Regions from separate parts of the Homo sapiens genome. Here region 2 is linked to region 1. The links are contacts of gene promoters, found by promoter capture Hi-C in human tissues and cell types (Jung and others, 2019). All regions are on one chromosome and are shown on one strand. Each heading gives the region's core, a stretch centred on a gene start or on the middle of the fragment in contact. The rest is flanking DNA. Distances are from core to core; before and after follow the strand shown.

Region 1 (6,799 bases), core at 2,659-5,158:
AAGTCCTCCTCCCCTCATCCCAATCACTTGGTTCCTCCCCTCCACCAGGTAACCCCTTTTATTTCCTATACATCTATTTCGATGTAGCATTTCTTCAAGCAGATATAAGCAATATATGGTCTTTTCCTGTTTTCTTGCACTAGAGAGGCAGCACACTATGAATCATATTCTGTCAATTGTTTTTTTCATTTAGTAAAGCTGGAGATCATTATGAAGGTATTACCATGGCACATTTAACAGTCTCCTTACTCTCCAAGTAAACAAATATATCAATTTTTTCTAGTCTTTTGCTATTGCAAACTATGCTGCAAAAAATACCCTTACATACATATCATTTCACATGTGTTATCATTTCATATGTGTATCCTCTAAAATTCAGGTGTTGCCAAATAGGCCATGAAGGCTCCTCCATCACTAATAGGATTAAGGCCCTTATAAGAGGCTTCACGCAGCATTCAGCTAGCTTGCTTTCTTGCCCTTCTGCCTTCTGCCATGTGAAGATGCAGCAGGAAGGCCCACACCAGACACCAAATGCCAGCTCCTTGATCTCAGATTTCTCAGAGTGAGAAAGTAAGTATCTGTTCTTTGTAAACTACCCAGTCTCAGATATTCTGTTATAGCAGCACAAAACAGACTAAGACAATATGTGTGCAGGTGTATGTGTAGGATTAGTTTCCAGAAGTAGGACTGCTAGCTTAAAGAGTAAATACACTTATAATTTTGAAGCATATTTGATAGGAGTTGCATAATTTTGTACTTTTGTTAGCAATACATTAGAGGGCCCTTACCCCAATATGTGTTGTCCAGGACTTAGATTTTAGCCAATATGGTAGGTGTGCAGTTTAAATTTGCATTTCTCTTGTCATGAGTGAGACAGTACATTTTTCATATGTATAAAAGCCATTTGTGTTCCTTTCTCTGTGAACTGCCCTTGTCCTTTGCCCATTTTCTACTGGGTTTCCCCCAAGGAATACTCTTGCTTACTCCTCCAAGAGTAATTTATACTTTAGGGGGCTGTTTCTATATAACATCAATATGAACTATTCTTTAATTTTGCCATTTGTCTTTGCCTACTGTGTTTTTTTTGCCATGCATAAATTAGGGTTTTTATGTAGTTGAATCGATCAATCTTTCCTATTACGACTAGGACATTTTGAGTCATAGTTGGAAAGACTTTCTCCCCTTTCCCCCACTCTAAGATTATAAAGGAATCTGGTCATGTTTTATTCTAATACCTTGACATTTTTTCACGTTTAAATCTTGGATTCATTTATAGCCTAGAGCACTGTCATCTACCAGACTAAAAAAGAATATGGATGAGTAGATTCTAAACATTTCTCCCCATATTAGATCTTTCTTTAAATACAATCTTGCCCCATATATAAGACAGATGGAAGAGAGCTGCCCTGAAGGTGCAGCAGAGACCCTCCTGTGAGTCACACCCTCCCCAGACTCCATGGATCTCCATGGAATCCTTAGGATGGCTGTAAGCAGAGTGAAGACCACAGATATCTGCAGAACAGCAACTAGGCCAAAAAGTTTGATGAGAAAAAAGTTAAAAGAAGGACTTTCTGGTTTGTCTTGATGTTTGCCATTGAGTGTTTGCTGAGGAGGAAATGAGGCAAGACTGGAGAGGACTTAAGAGACCCTTTCTGCAGGGGCTCATCTTTATTATCAACAGTTCCCTTTTGCTGAGTTCATATGTTCAAGTGAAAAATTCCTCATGATTCTACTATGATCTGATTGGTGTAGTGGAGAATGCATCGACCTTGGTATCACATATGAGTTCTAATCCTGAACAGTTACTAGCTGTGCAGCCTCTGGCAAGTCATTTCTGTTTCACAATTAGCAGTTCATCCATAGTAAATAACTGAGTACTTTGTATATGGAAGACGCTGTGCTAACTGATAGAGATACAAAAACGGAGAAGATAGAAATGGTATTACCTTACAGCATGGAGGTGGAACCACATGGTAAACAAATAACTTTCGTAATTATTTAGATTCTAATTGTTATAACATCTTCAACAGAGCATGAGGTCCTGCGGACATGGAAGAGCAGGGAGGTTCAGGCTTGCTAGTTTAGGGAAGCTGGCCACCAGGTTCAGGTTTGACAGGCGCATAGGAAATGGCATGGCAGAGGGAGGCCAGAGCCTTTTAGGCAAAAGGAAGAGCAAATGCTTATTAGACCCCAAGGCTGCAGGAGCTAGGCACGTTTGACCACCGAAAGGGAAGGCCAGTATAGACAGCATAAACCTCACTGTGGTGTCTGTGTTGAGAATGGATTGTATGTGTGTGCTGTGTGAGGGGCAAGAGTGGATTAGGGGACATGGGTTAAGAGCTACTAGCAGTCTGGGCAAAAGATACTAGTGGCCTGGGAAACAGTGGTAGTGGAGAGTGGACACATTAGTAAGACACACAAACGTGTTCACAAAAATTCCTAGGTTTCTGCGTGAGCTGTGGCCAGGTGGATGTCCATGCCACTACTGAGATGGCGAATTCTGAACAGGAGGAAGTTTGGAGAAAAACCCCAACATTTCGGCAGGACAGCACCTCCTGGTGGAGATGACAAGCGGGAGCCTCACCACAGGCCTGGTTGTGGGAGTGAAAGGGGGACTCCGGGCGCGGTCGGGTGCACTTACTGTGCTAAGACAGCAAGGCCCGGCGGAGGTGGCAATGGCAGACCTGGTTTCTCGGCGGAGTCCCAGTGGGAGGCCCGGTGTCCAAAATCCTCAACTAGATTGGGCATGCCGTTTATCTTGTTCCAACTGTTGACAGTAATGGCACTAGCAATAATGTCCTTCCCAGGCAAAGATGGTTTTTCTTCCGTGTTTTCAGCCACTGCAGAGTGGACATCTACTATGAACCAAGTATCTGCGGCTTTAGGTACCAGATTCAAACACAGAATGGTGGCAGAACAGGGACTAGGACGGAGAGAAAACCTGAAGATGGATCAACCAGGAAGCAATGCATTCTCACAGAGGCACAAAAAAATGCCTCTGAAACAGAAGATTCACCTCCACTTCTGCGTCCTTTTGAGGCAACTTTCTGAGCATCCTTTCCTCCTCCCCAGGCCAACGCTTTTCCACCTTGTTAAACTACCCGGTAGCTTTCTCCATGGGAGGCGCCTTCTTCACAGTACTCGGACCCAGTTACACTTGTGGCCTTCCCCGGCTTCTGCTGGGCCGGCTATGGTCGACGCCGCACCGTCTCAGGCCCACTTCTCCTGCGGGAGCGGCGGCCCCAGCGGAGCCCCTGTGCGCCACGGCGAACGTGATAGGAATGCAATCTTCCGCCCCTTCAGACTCTGGCACCCCGTAGCCTTTCCTCAGGCTCCACGAGTTCTCCCGGTGATGTGATGACCGACATGGCGTCTGGGCTCTGAACACAGACTTTACTCCTTCCCCCCGGCCCCGAAACATGGGGAAACCACACCCTCTCTGCTCCAGTCACCAGCAGCCACTCCCATTCCTTAAGTATCCATTATTGCATGTGTAGCCTATTGCATGTGTAGCCTACTTCTGGTTTTCATTTTTATTTAAGGTCAGTTGTTGCCTGACAACACAGACGACAGTAACTTAATTCGAAAGACAATACTTGGAGGCGGCCCCCGCTCCAGGCACCAGCCCAGCAGCTCCCCCGAACTCCCCAGGAGCTCGCGGGCGAGCAACGCCACAGCCCAGAGCGAGCTCCGCGGAACCCCCAGCCCCGGGGAAGGAAGCTCGACTCTCCGCGGGGCACTCCTTCCGGGCTCCGGGCCCGACTAGGCCATCCGGGAGGCCCTGGAGCGCCGGGGCCGGAGAAGCCCTGCCCCCCGCCGAAGCCCCGCCCTGCGCCCGAGCGCCCGCCAATGGCAGGGCGCGGTGCGGCGCGCCGAGGTGGGACGGCGGCGCGCTGAGGAGGCGGTGCGCTCAGGCGGCGCTCCCGGAGATGCCCCGCGGCAGCCGCGCTCGGGGCTCTAAGGTAGGCTCTGGGGCGGGAGTGGGCGCCGCGCCGTTTCCCGCGTTGCGGGGAAGCGGCGGGCCGGCGCGGGGCTGGCCCCGTTGTGCTGGGGTGAGAGAGGGTGGGCGTTGGGGGTGAAGGGCTAGGTGGTGGCGGGTCCCGTCTGCGCGCGTGGAGCAAGCCCGCGCAGTGGGGTACCGCCCCCAGGTCCGGCTCCGGTCCAGGCGTGCGGGCCGGGCCCTCAGCGGCGGTACGGAAAGCGAGGGGTGGGACCGCCGAGGGACGCAGCGGGCGGGAGCATATGTCCGCCTCGGGGGTACTTGGCCTTACTCTTGTCTCTTTTTGATTCTGGTGTAATGTACCAAACCGCAGGGAATCCTGGCGTGGTTTTACCCGTCTCCGCGGATAATCCACTGTCAACTCTGTCTCTCTTCCTGCCGCACTCGGAGGGGACTGTGCGGCTGACTGCCCAATCCGTGGGCACCGCGCTGCCTCGGGTTCCAGAACGGGAGCGGGTGCCTAGGAATCGTTGCTTGAATGGTGTTTGATTGCACCTGTATCCGCGAGTGCATCCTTTTTTGTTCTGCTAATTGTGCTTGTCATGGCATGTGTCCTTTATCGTTTTAAAGTTTCTTCTAACTTCCTTGCTTTCAAATACGTTTGTCTCATAGTAAAACGGTTTTTAAAAAGCAAACACAGGACCTCCTTTCTTGACTCTTGCCTTTACTTGAAAACTTCCTGGAAAAAATAGACCACATATACTGGTTCAACTTCTTTACCACTACCATGCTTTCTCGCTTCTCAAATACCATTGATTATCAGCCCACACTATCAGTTTTGTGACTGGCTTTAGGGAATAAAGAAATTCATTTCAGGCACCTCTTGATTATAAGATACAGTCTGATTTCTGAAGCATTAATGTGTGAAAAAAATCAAGGAAATATATAAATTTGCTAAATCCAGTGTAAGTTGTTTACTTGATCATTGGAGCGTTTGACACATTCACCACCTGCTTTTATTTCTTTTGGAACATCCATGATTGTTTTCCTGTCTTGCAACAGCTCATTTTCTTCTCTTTACTGTGTTCGTGCCATGTTCTAATTTTTGACCTTGTGCTTTTTCACATGTTCCATATTTGCTTTGGACAATGTCATACATTGAAGTTAACTATATAGATGACTTTCAGATCTATATTAGATCTTTCCCTAGAGCTCAAACTTAGTGCATCACATAATCATCATCTCACCCTTAGTCCTCCAGGCCCTAACAGTTTCTCTTGACTTAGAAATCTTAGTATTTTTGAATTGACGTTCACTTCTGGTCTCTTCATCTTGTCATTTTTCAAGACTCTTTTTTTTTACTCAATTTTTTTTAGTAGTCGTACAGTTGTCTATTGTGTAATACGTTGCTGAAAACTGAAGCAGTTCATAACAAATGTTTATTATATCATAGAGTTTCTGAGACTCAGGAATCTGAGAACGGCTCAACTAAGTGGTTGTAGTTCAGGATCTCCCACAAGGCTGCAGTCAAATAAAGGGTCGTTGGAGCTGGAGAATCCAGTTCCAAGCTCACTCACGTGGTTGTTTCTTGACAGCTGCATAGGGCAGCTCACAACAGGGTCCTGGCTTTCCCAAGAGCAAGAGAGAGAGCAACAAGATATCGGTCCCCGTGTCTTTTATAGCCTAAACTCAGAAGTGACATCCCATCTCCTGTCTATTCATTACATGGACCAACCCGGTACAATGTATGAGGAGACTATAGAGGGTCCCCAGGAGGTGGGGATCACAGGGGCCACCTTGGAGGCTGGCTTCCACAGTATTTCCCAGGAATTTATTTTTTGTTTCTGTCTCCCTCGGTCAGTCTCAAAAGTACTTAATGGTTGGAGTGTTGATGTGTAGTGCCGGCTAGCATGCTCCCATTCCATCTTCAGAGGTGACTTTCCCTTAGGCACTACTTTGATTATATTGTTAGTCCTCTATCTAAATCTCATTTTACTTCTTATTGGCTACATCATAATTTACTGCAGAACTTATCCTGTGTTTAGTGCTTTATATGTATTAACTAATTTAATTATTTTAACAGTCCTGTGAGGTAGATACCATTAGTCTCATTTTATGGATGAGGAAACTGAGGCTCAGCAGAGAGGCTAAGTAATTTGCCTAAGGTCACACAGCAGTTAAGGGAAGAAGCTAGGATTTGTATCCAGGTAGTCTGCCCCAGACCTTGCTTTTGTTCAGGCTCTCAGCCTGTTATTCACAGCCTCCATAATATCTGTGTCTTATTCCTTTACAGCTTTGCTCATTATTTATCTTATAGGTAAACTAGACTACTGCGTCACTGTACTTGCTTGCCCCTTGGTGGTAATTGCGTATGTTCTTGGTTTGGAATAATGCCAGTTCTCCCATTTCTGCTGATTGAAACCTTTTTTTTTTGAGACGCAGTCTCGCTCTGTCGCCCAGGCTGGAGTGCAGTGGCGCGATCTCGGTACAGGCGCCAGCCTCCACACCGGGCTAATTTTTTTTAAATTTTTATTAGAGACAGGGTTTCACCGTGTTAGCCAGGATGGTCTCGATCTCCTGACGTCGTGATCCGCCCGCCTCGGCCTCCCAAAGTGCTGGGATTACAGGCGTGAGCCACTGCGCCCGGCCATGAAATCTTAATCATCCATTGAGGCCTACTTCAAATCCCACCTTCTCCCAAATTATCCCAGCTATAAATGAACTTTCTTCTGTATGTTCTTGGTTTGGAATAATGCCAGTTCTCCCATTTCTGCTGATTGGAATCTTAGTCATCCATTGAGGCCCACCCCAAATTTCACCTCCCAAATTATCCCAGCTGTAAATGAACTTTCTTCTGTA
Region 2 (6,799 bases), core at 2,314-4,813, 91 kb before region 1:
GTTTGCAGTACGTTTCTAATATAAGTGTAGGTGGGTATCAAAACAAGACAAATGCTGTTCAGGGAAAGAAGTTGGCAAGCTTAATGTTAAACAAAAATAAAATTACATGTGTTTTCGCCTTTAAAAAAAAAATTCAGCAGGCCAGGTGCAGTAGTTCACACCTATAATCCCAGCACTTTGGGAAGCCAAGGCGGGAGGACTGCTTTGAGTTCAGGAGTTTGAGACCAGCCTGGGTGCCATGGCAAAACTCCATCTCTACAACAAAATAAAAAAAAAAATTAGCTGGGCATGGTGGCACAGGCCCAGTCACTCAGGAGGCTGAGGCTGGAGAATCCCTTGATTCCAGGAAGTAGAGGTTGCAGTGAGCTGAGATCCACCACTGCACTCCAGCCTGGCCAACAGAGCCAGACCCTGTCTCAAAAAAAATAAAAATCAGCAAACTCTGGAGGTGGCTGGGATTCTTTTCCTTCCACCTGAGGCTTGGATGCAGCACAATCAAGCAGGGTGTGGCTCCGACACCCATCCTGGGCCAGGCTTCCCCTTCCTCCCACAGACAGTTTCCCTCTCTCTCAATCTACATAGGAGTTTCCCTCAGAAAAAGTCCTAAAGCCTAAAATTCTACAGCCTCCTATGCTGCCACCCTCAAAAGCCCTAGGGGAATGAATACTACTGTAAAATACACACTAAAATACTAACAGAAAAAGAGGAAAATGAGTGAGAACCTGATGGGAATAACAGAACATTCCACAAAATGAAAGCTTCTATACTCACAATGAAGAAAAAACAGCTGAGGAGCTGCGCTGAGGCGAAACTGCAAGGAAGCTCCCTCCTCAGCAGTCAGCACAGTGGATAGGAGCTGTCTCTTCCCAAGGGCGCAGTCCCAAGTCATCCCAAAGCTGCCGCAGTGTCCCGTCCAGCAAGTCCTGAGGGACCTGGAGTGCTTCACTTTCTCCTCACTGTGGACGCCACACCTGCCACACGGTGCCTGCAGGTAGAACACCCATGTGCACCATTAAGGGCAGAAAAGGCAGTTTGAACGCCCCTGCTGGTCACAGTGTGCAACGCAGGATGGTTCCACCTCATGGTCATGGCCCCAGTGCTGTGAAATTAGAACTGGTGACATACATCTGGGAAATAACTGTCTTGTAACAAGACTGTTGTCATTTAACTACCAGTTTTGTTATCCTGTAACTTCTTGTGGGATGAAGAAAATTGTGTTCCAAAGAAATGATGTTTGCCATATTATTGGAGATCAGTTGTAAAACAATGTTGGATACTTCCTACGAATTACCAGTGGTTTGCTTTGTGAAGAGGTTTAAATTCCCATCTCTGGTGCATTTTGGAACAAGTGGCTTTGAGGTCAACACCTTGAAAGGTAGCCCTCAAAAGAACAAGAGTCTTCAGTTCCCACACAAAGTAAAAAATGTGAACTTAATTTTAGCATTGTTAATAGGGAACAACTATCCATGAATCCCTGCATCAAAATGCCTATGTTATAACATCCTCTCTTCCTAAGGCACAGGAGCAAGTGGTACATACTTGTCTGGCAACCAGTTTCATTAATGCTGTTGTTGTATCTGTCCAAAGATGAGAAGTAGTTTGTTACCAGTTTCACTACCTTTTGGAGTTTTAGATAACATATATCCACACTGTGATATTTACACTTTTTAATGACTCCCTTTTAAATAAAATTACCACTTTATGTGAAATCCAGTTCATGCATAATAAAGCTTGCCTGTACATATATGGTGTTGGGCATACACCATACATTCGTACATAATGCCAGCCATGCCTTAATCATGGGATAAGAATGGCCAGACACTTCCCACATTTCTGCGACAGCAAATTGAGCGCTCACACAGGGCTCCTGGCTGGAGAACAGGTGAGACCCAGACCTGCCCATGACTCTCCTCCCTCAGTGGTCCATCATTCAATTATTTAGGCACCTCTGGGGACAGACACCAGGCTCTCTGAGGCTTCAGATGCCCCAGAAAGCCTGCTCTCCTAAAAACAGTGGCCTTGGATGGAGACATTCTTGCTGCATTTCTCCTTAAATATACTCAATTTGTGTGTGTGTGTGTGTGTGTGTGTGTGTGTGTGTGTGTGTTTGAATCAACACAATTGTCCCACAGAAACTTCTAAGGGCCTAATAAATATGTGCATAGAATTTTGATGGGATAGTTTTTTAACTATATAAAAAGATATAAATAATATGTAATTTTAAAAAAATGGTGCAGTGGCTCATACCTGTAATCCCAGCACTTTGGGAGGCCAAAGCAGGTGGATCACCTGAGTCCAGGAATTCAAGACCACCTTGGGCAACACGGAGGAACTCTGTCTCTACAAAAAAAAAAAATACAAAAACTAGCTGGCCATAGTAGTGCGCACCTGTAGTCCCAGCTGCTTGGGAGGCTGAGGTGGGAGGATGACCTGAGCCAGGGAGGTCAAGGTTGCAGTCAGCCGAAATTGCACCACTGCACTCCAGCCTAGACAACAGAGACATTGTATCAATAAAAAATAAAGAAATGTCTGACAGATAATCCTTCAGCGTTTTTATCTAGTAGTTATCTCAGCACTCCCAGGACTGCTGTGAGCAATCAATGAAATCTGTCACAGCAGAGACTCTTTGGGGTCTCCCAGCCAAGGCCATGTGGAGCACATAGAGGCAGGATCAGGGAATCTGAGCATCTGCCTAGGGCCTCTCCCTGCTTCCTCACCCTCTGCCATATTCTTCTCCACATCTGACTCTGTGAAGCCACATCATCTGTTTCCTGACTCCTTTTCTACCAGTGACAAACTCCCACTCTGCTGGTGTCTGGCCATAAATCTCCAAATACAGAATTCCCTCAAGCCACATGTGTTTCCCTGAATTAGAACACAAAGTTTCAGCATAACTGTCATTTATCCCATCATTCTCCAGAGCTCCCCATCTCCCCATCCCCAGGATGCTCCCCAAGTCTCCACAGCCAGCCCTCTCCTCATTCCTCCATGGAGCCCTGGCACAAAATACTGACCCATACTGCCCTTCCCAGGGCTTAGAGGTGCCAAGTTATGAGCCAAGACCGCCAGGTGCAACAGGAAGCTCCACTGGAGATAAGCTTCCCACCTCTTTTGTATTATCTACTGCGCAACTCATATTTTATTTTATATTTTACTATATTTTATTATTTTATATTTTATCTTTTGAGACAAGGTCTCTGTTGCCCAGCCTGGAGCACAGTGGCATGATCACAGCTCACTGCAGCCTCCATCTCTTTGGCTCAAGCAATCCTCCTGCCTCAGCCTCCTGAGTAGCTGGGACTACAGGCATGCACCACCATGCTTGGCTAATTTATCTTATTTTTTGAAAGACGGGAGTCTCACTATGTTGCTCAGGCTGGCCTTGAACTCCTTGGCTCAAGTGATCTTCCCACGTTAGTCTCACAAAGTGTTGGGATTAGAGGCATAAGCCGCCGTGCCCAGCCTGTTGAGAGTTTTTATCATGAAGGGGTGTTAAGATTTTATCAAAAGATTTTTCTGCGTCTATTGAGATAATCATATGGTTTTTGCTTTTAATCTGTTTATACAGGGAATCACACTTACCGATTGCAGATGTTGAACCAACATCCCTGGAATAAAGTCTATTTGATCAAGGTGAATTAGTTTTTCAATGTGCTGCTGGATTCAGTTTGCTAGTATTTTGTTGAGGATTTCTTCTTCTATGCTCATTGGGATATTGGCCTGAAATTTTTTTTCTTTGTCATGTCTCTGCCAGATTTTAGTGTTAGGCTGATGCTCGTTTCATAGAATGAATTAAGGAGGAGTCTCTCCTCCTCGACTTTTTAGAGTAGTTTCAGAAAGGCTTTGAATTCAGAATTTGGCTTTGAATCCATCAGGTCCAGGGACTTTTTTCATTGCTAGGTTTTATATTACTGTTTCAATCAGGGTTCAGTATTGGTCTACTCAAGGTTCCAATCTCTTCCTGATTTAATCTTAGGAGACTGTATATTTCCAGGAATGTATCCATTTCCTCCAGATTTTCTAATTTGTTTGTATAGAATTGTTCATAGTATTCTGAGGGTCCCTTTCATCTCTGTAAGAACAGTTGTAATGCCATCTTTGTCATTTCCAATTCTACTTATTTGGATCTTTAATCCAGCTAGCAGTGCATCAATATTGTTTATTTTTCTCAGAGAAGCAACTCTTGGTTTCATTAACCTTTTGTATAGATTTTTGCATCTCAATTTCATTAAGTTCTTCTCTGATTTTAGGTATTTATGTGTTTCTTACAAGCTTTGGGGTTGGTTGGTTCTTCGGTTCCCAAGTTCTTTTAGGTGCCCAGTTAATTGTCAATTTGAGATCTTTCTGACTTTTTGATGAAGGCATTTAGAGGTATAAACTTCCTCTTCACACTGCTTTACTTGTGTGAAGAGAAATCCCAGAAATCTCTGGTAAGCTATGTGCCTATTTTAATTAATTTCAAAGTTTTTTTATTTCTGCCTTAATTTCAATGTTCACCCAGGATTTATTCAGGAACAAGTTGTTTAATTTCCATGTATTTGTGTTGTTTTAAGAGATCTTAACTGCTATTGGTTTATATTTTTATTGCACTGTGGTCTCACAGTGTGCTTTGTACAATTTCAGGGTTTTTTTAATTATTTATTGAGACTTGCTTTATGGCTGAGCATATGGTTCATCTTAAAATACGTTCCACATACAGATAAGAAGAATGTGTATTCTGTGGTTGTTGAGTGGAGGATTCTGTAGAAGACTATTAGGTCTAATTGGTCAAGTTTTGAGTTTAAGTCCCACATTTCTTTGTTAATTTTCTGCCTTAATGATCCGACTAACGCTTCCGTGGGGAGGTGAAGTCTCCCACTACTATTGTGTGGTTGTCTATGTCATTTTGTAGGACAAGAAAAACTTGTGCTATGAATTTGGGTGCTTCAGTGTTGGGTGCACATATATTTAGGATAGTTAAGTCTTCTTGTTAGCCTTTATCATTATGTAATACTGCCTTCCTTGTCCTACCTAATTTTATTGGTTTAAAGTCTGTTTTATCTGATATAAGAATTGCAACTCCCGGCCGGGCACGGTGGCTCACACCTGTAATCCCAGCACTTTGGGAGGCCGAGGTGGGTGGATCACTTGAGGTCAGGAGTTCGAAACCAGCCTTGCCAGCATGGCAAAACCCCATCTCTACTAAAAATACAAAAATTAACTGGGCGTGGTGGCACCCACCTATAGTCCCAGCTACTCGAGAGGCTGAGGCAGAAGAATCGCTTGAACCTGGGAGGCAGAGGTTGCAGTGAGCCGAGATCGCACCACTGCACTCCAGCCTGGGTGGCAGAGCAAGACTCTATCTCAAAATAAATAAATGAATAAATAAATAAATAAAGAATTGCAACTTCTAGTCCAGATGCAGTCACTAATGCCTATAATCCAGGCACTTTGTGAGGCCAAGGCAGGTGGATTGTTTGAACTCAAGAGCTGGAGACCAGCCTGGGCAACATGGCAAAACACCATCTCTACAAAAATTAGCCAGGCGTGGTGGCAGATGCCTATAGTCCCAGCTACTTGGAGGCTGAGGTGGGAGGATCACTTAAGCCTCAGAGGTTGAGGCTGCAGTGAGCCGTAATCACAACACTACACTCAAGCCTGGGTAACAGAGACCCTATCTCAAAAAAAAAAAAAAAAAAAGAACAGCGACTCTTACCTGGTTGACATTTCTCCACCCCTTTACTTTGAGCCTGTGGATACTGTTACATGTGAGATTAATCTCTTGATGATGGTTGGGTCTTGTCTTTATATCTAGCTTTATATCTATCTTGCCACTGGATCAAAGATTTAAGTGTAAGACTTTAATAGTTAAGTCTTCTTGTTAGCCTTTATCATTATGTAATAATGCCCTTCCTTGTCCTACCTAATTTTATTGGTTTAAAGTCTGTTTTATCTGATATAAGAATTGCAACTCCCAGCCGGGAAACTCTAGAAGAAAACCTAGGAAATACCATTCAGGACATCAGCCTTGGGAAAGAATTTATGACTAGAGGCCGGGCACGGTGGCTCACACCTGTAATCCTAGCACTTTGGGAGTGCTGAGGTGGGCGGATCACCTGAGGTCAGGAGTTCGAGACCAGCCTGACCAACATGGTGAAACCGTCTCTACTAAAATTACAAAAAATTACCCTGGCATGGGGGTACGCACCTGTAATCCCAGCTTCTTGGGAGGCTGAGGCACGAGAATTGCTTGAACCCAGGAGACAGAAGTTGTAGTGAGCCAAGACTGTACCACTGCACTCCAGCCTGGTCAATAGAGTGAGACTCTGTCTCAAATTGAAAAAAAAAAAAAAAAGAATTTATGACTAGGTTCTCAATAGCAGTTGCAATAAAAACAAAAATTGACAAGTGGGACCTAATTAAACTAAAGAACTTCTTCACAACAAAAGTAACTATCAACAGAATAAACAGAAAACCTACAGAATGGAAGAAAATATTCACAAAAGTCTAATATCTAGCATCTATAAGAAACTTAAATCAATATGCAAAATACGAATAATCCCATTAAAAAGTGGGCAAAAGGCTAGGCACAATGGCTCATGCCTGTAATCCCAGGACTTTGGGAGGCCGAGGCAGGCAGATCACCTGAGGTCAGTAGTTCAAGACCAGCCTGGCCAACATGGTGAAACCCTGTCTCTACTAAAAATACAAAAATTAGCTGGGCATGGTGGCAGGTGCCTGTAATCCCAGCTATTCAGGTGGCTGAGGGAGGAGAATCGCTTGAAGCTGGGAGGCAGAGGTTGCAGTAAGCTGAGATCAT

What was found. The method cuts DNA at HindIII sites, captures the fragments that hold promoters and counts their contacts. A contact is called where the count stands out against the background at its distance.
Region 2: a contact is called between a fragment that was not itself captured here and the fragment with the promoter of SPIDR in region 1, in 2 of the 25 tissues and cell types used here (adrenal gland and spleen).

What each region holds. Positions count from the first base shown.
Region 1 is chr8:47,257,030-47,263,828 of GRCh38, forward strand. SPIDR (scaffold protein involved in DNA repair) reads left to right here and starts at 3,909. Exons shown (of 20, transcript NM_001080394.4): 1 at 3,909-3,962. The coding sequence starts at 3,930. RefSeq lists a silencer at 3,623-4,172. The HindIII fragment of the contact is 26,545 bases long and covers 1-6,799 here.
Region 2 is chr8:47,166,493-47,173,291 of GRCh38, forward strand. It overlaps the pseudogene NDUFA5P12. Among named protein-coding and RNA genes, the nearest start is that of SPIDR, 91 kb to the right of the region's middle. The HindIII fragment of the contact is 4,639 bases long and covers 1,245-5,883 here.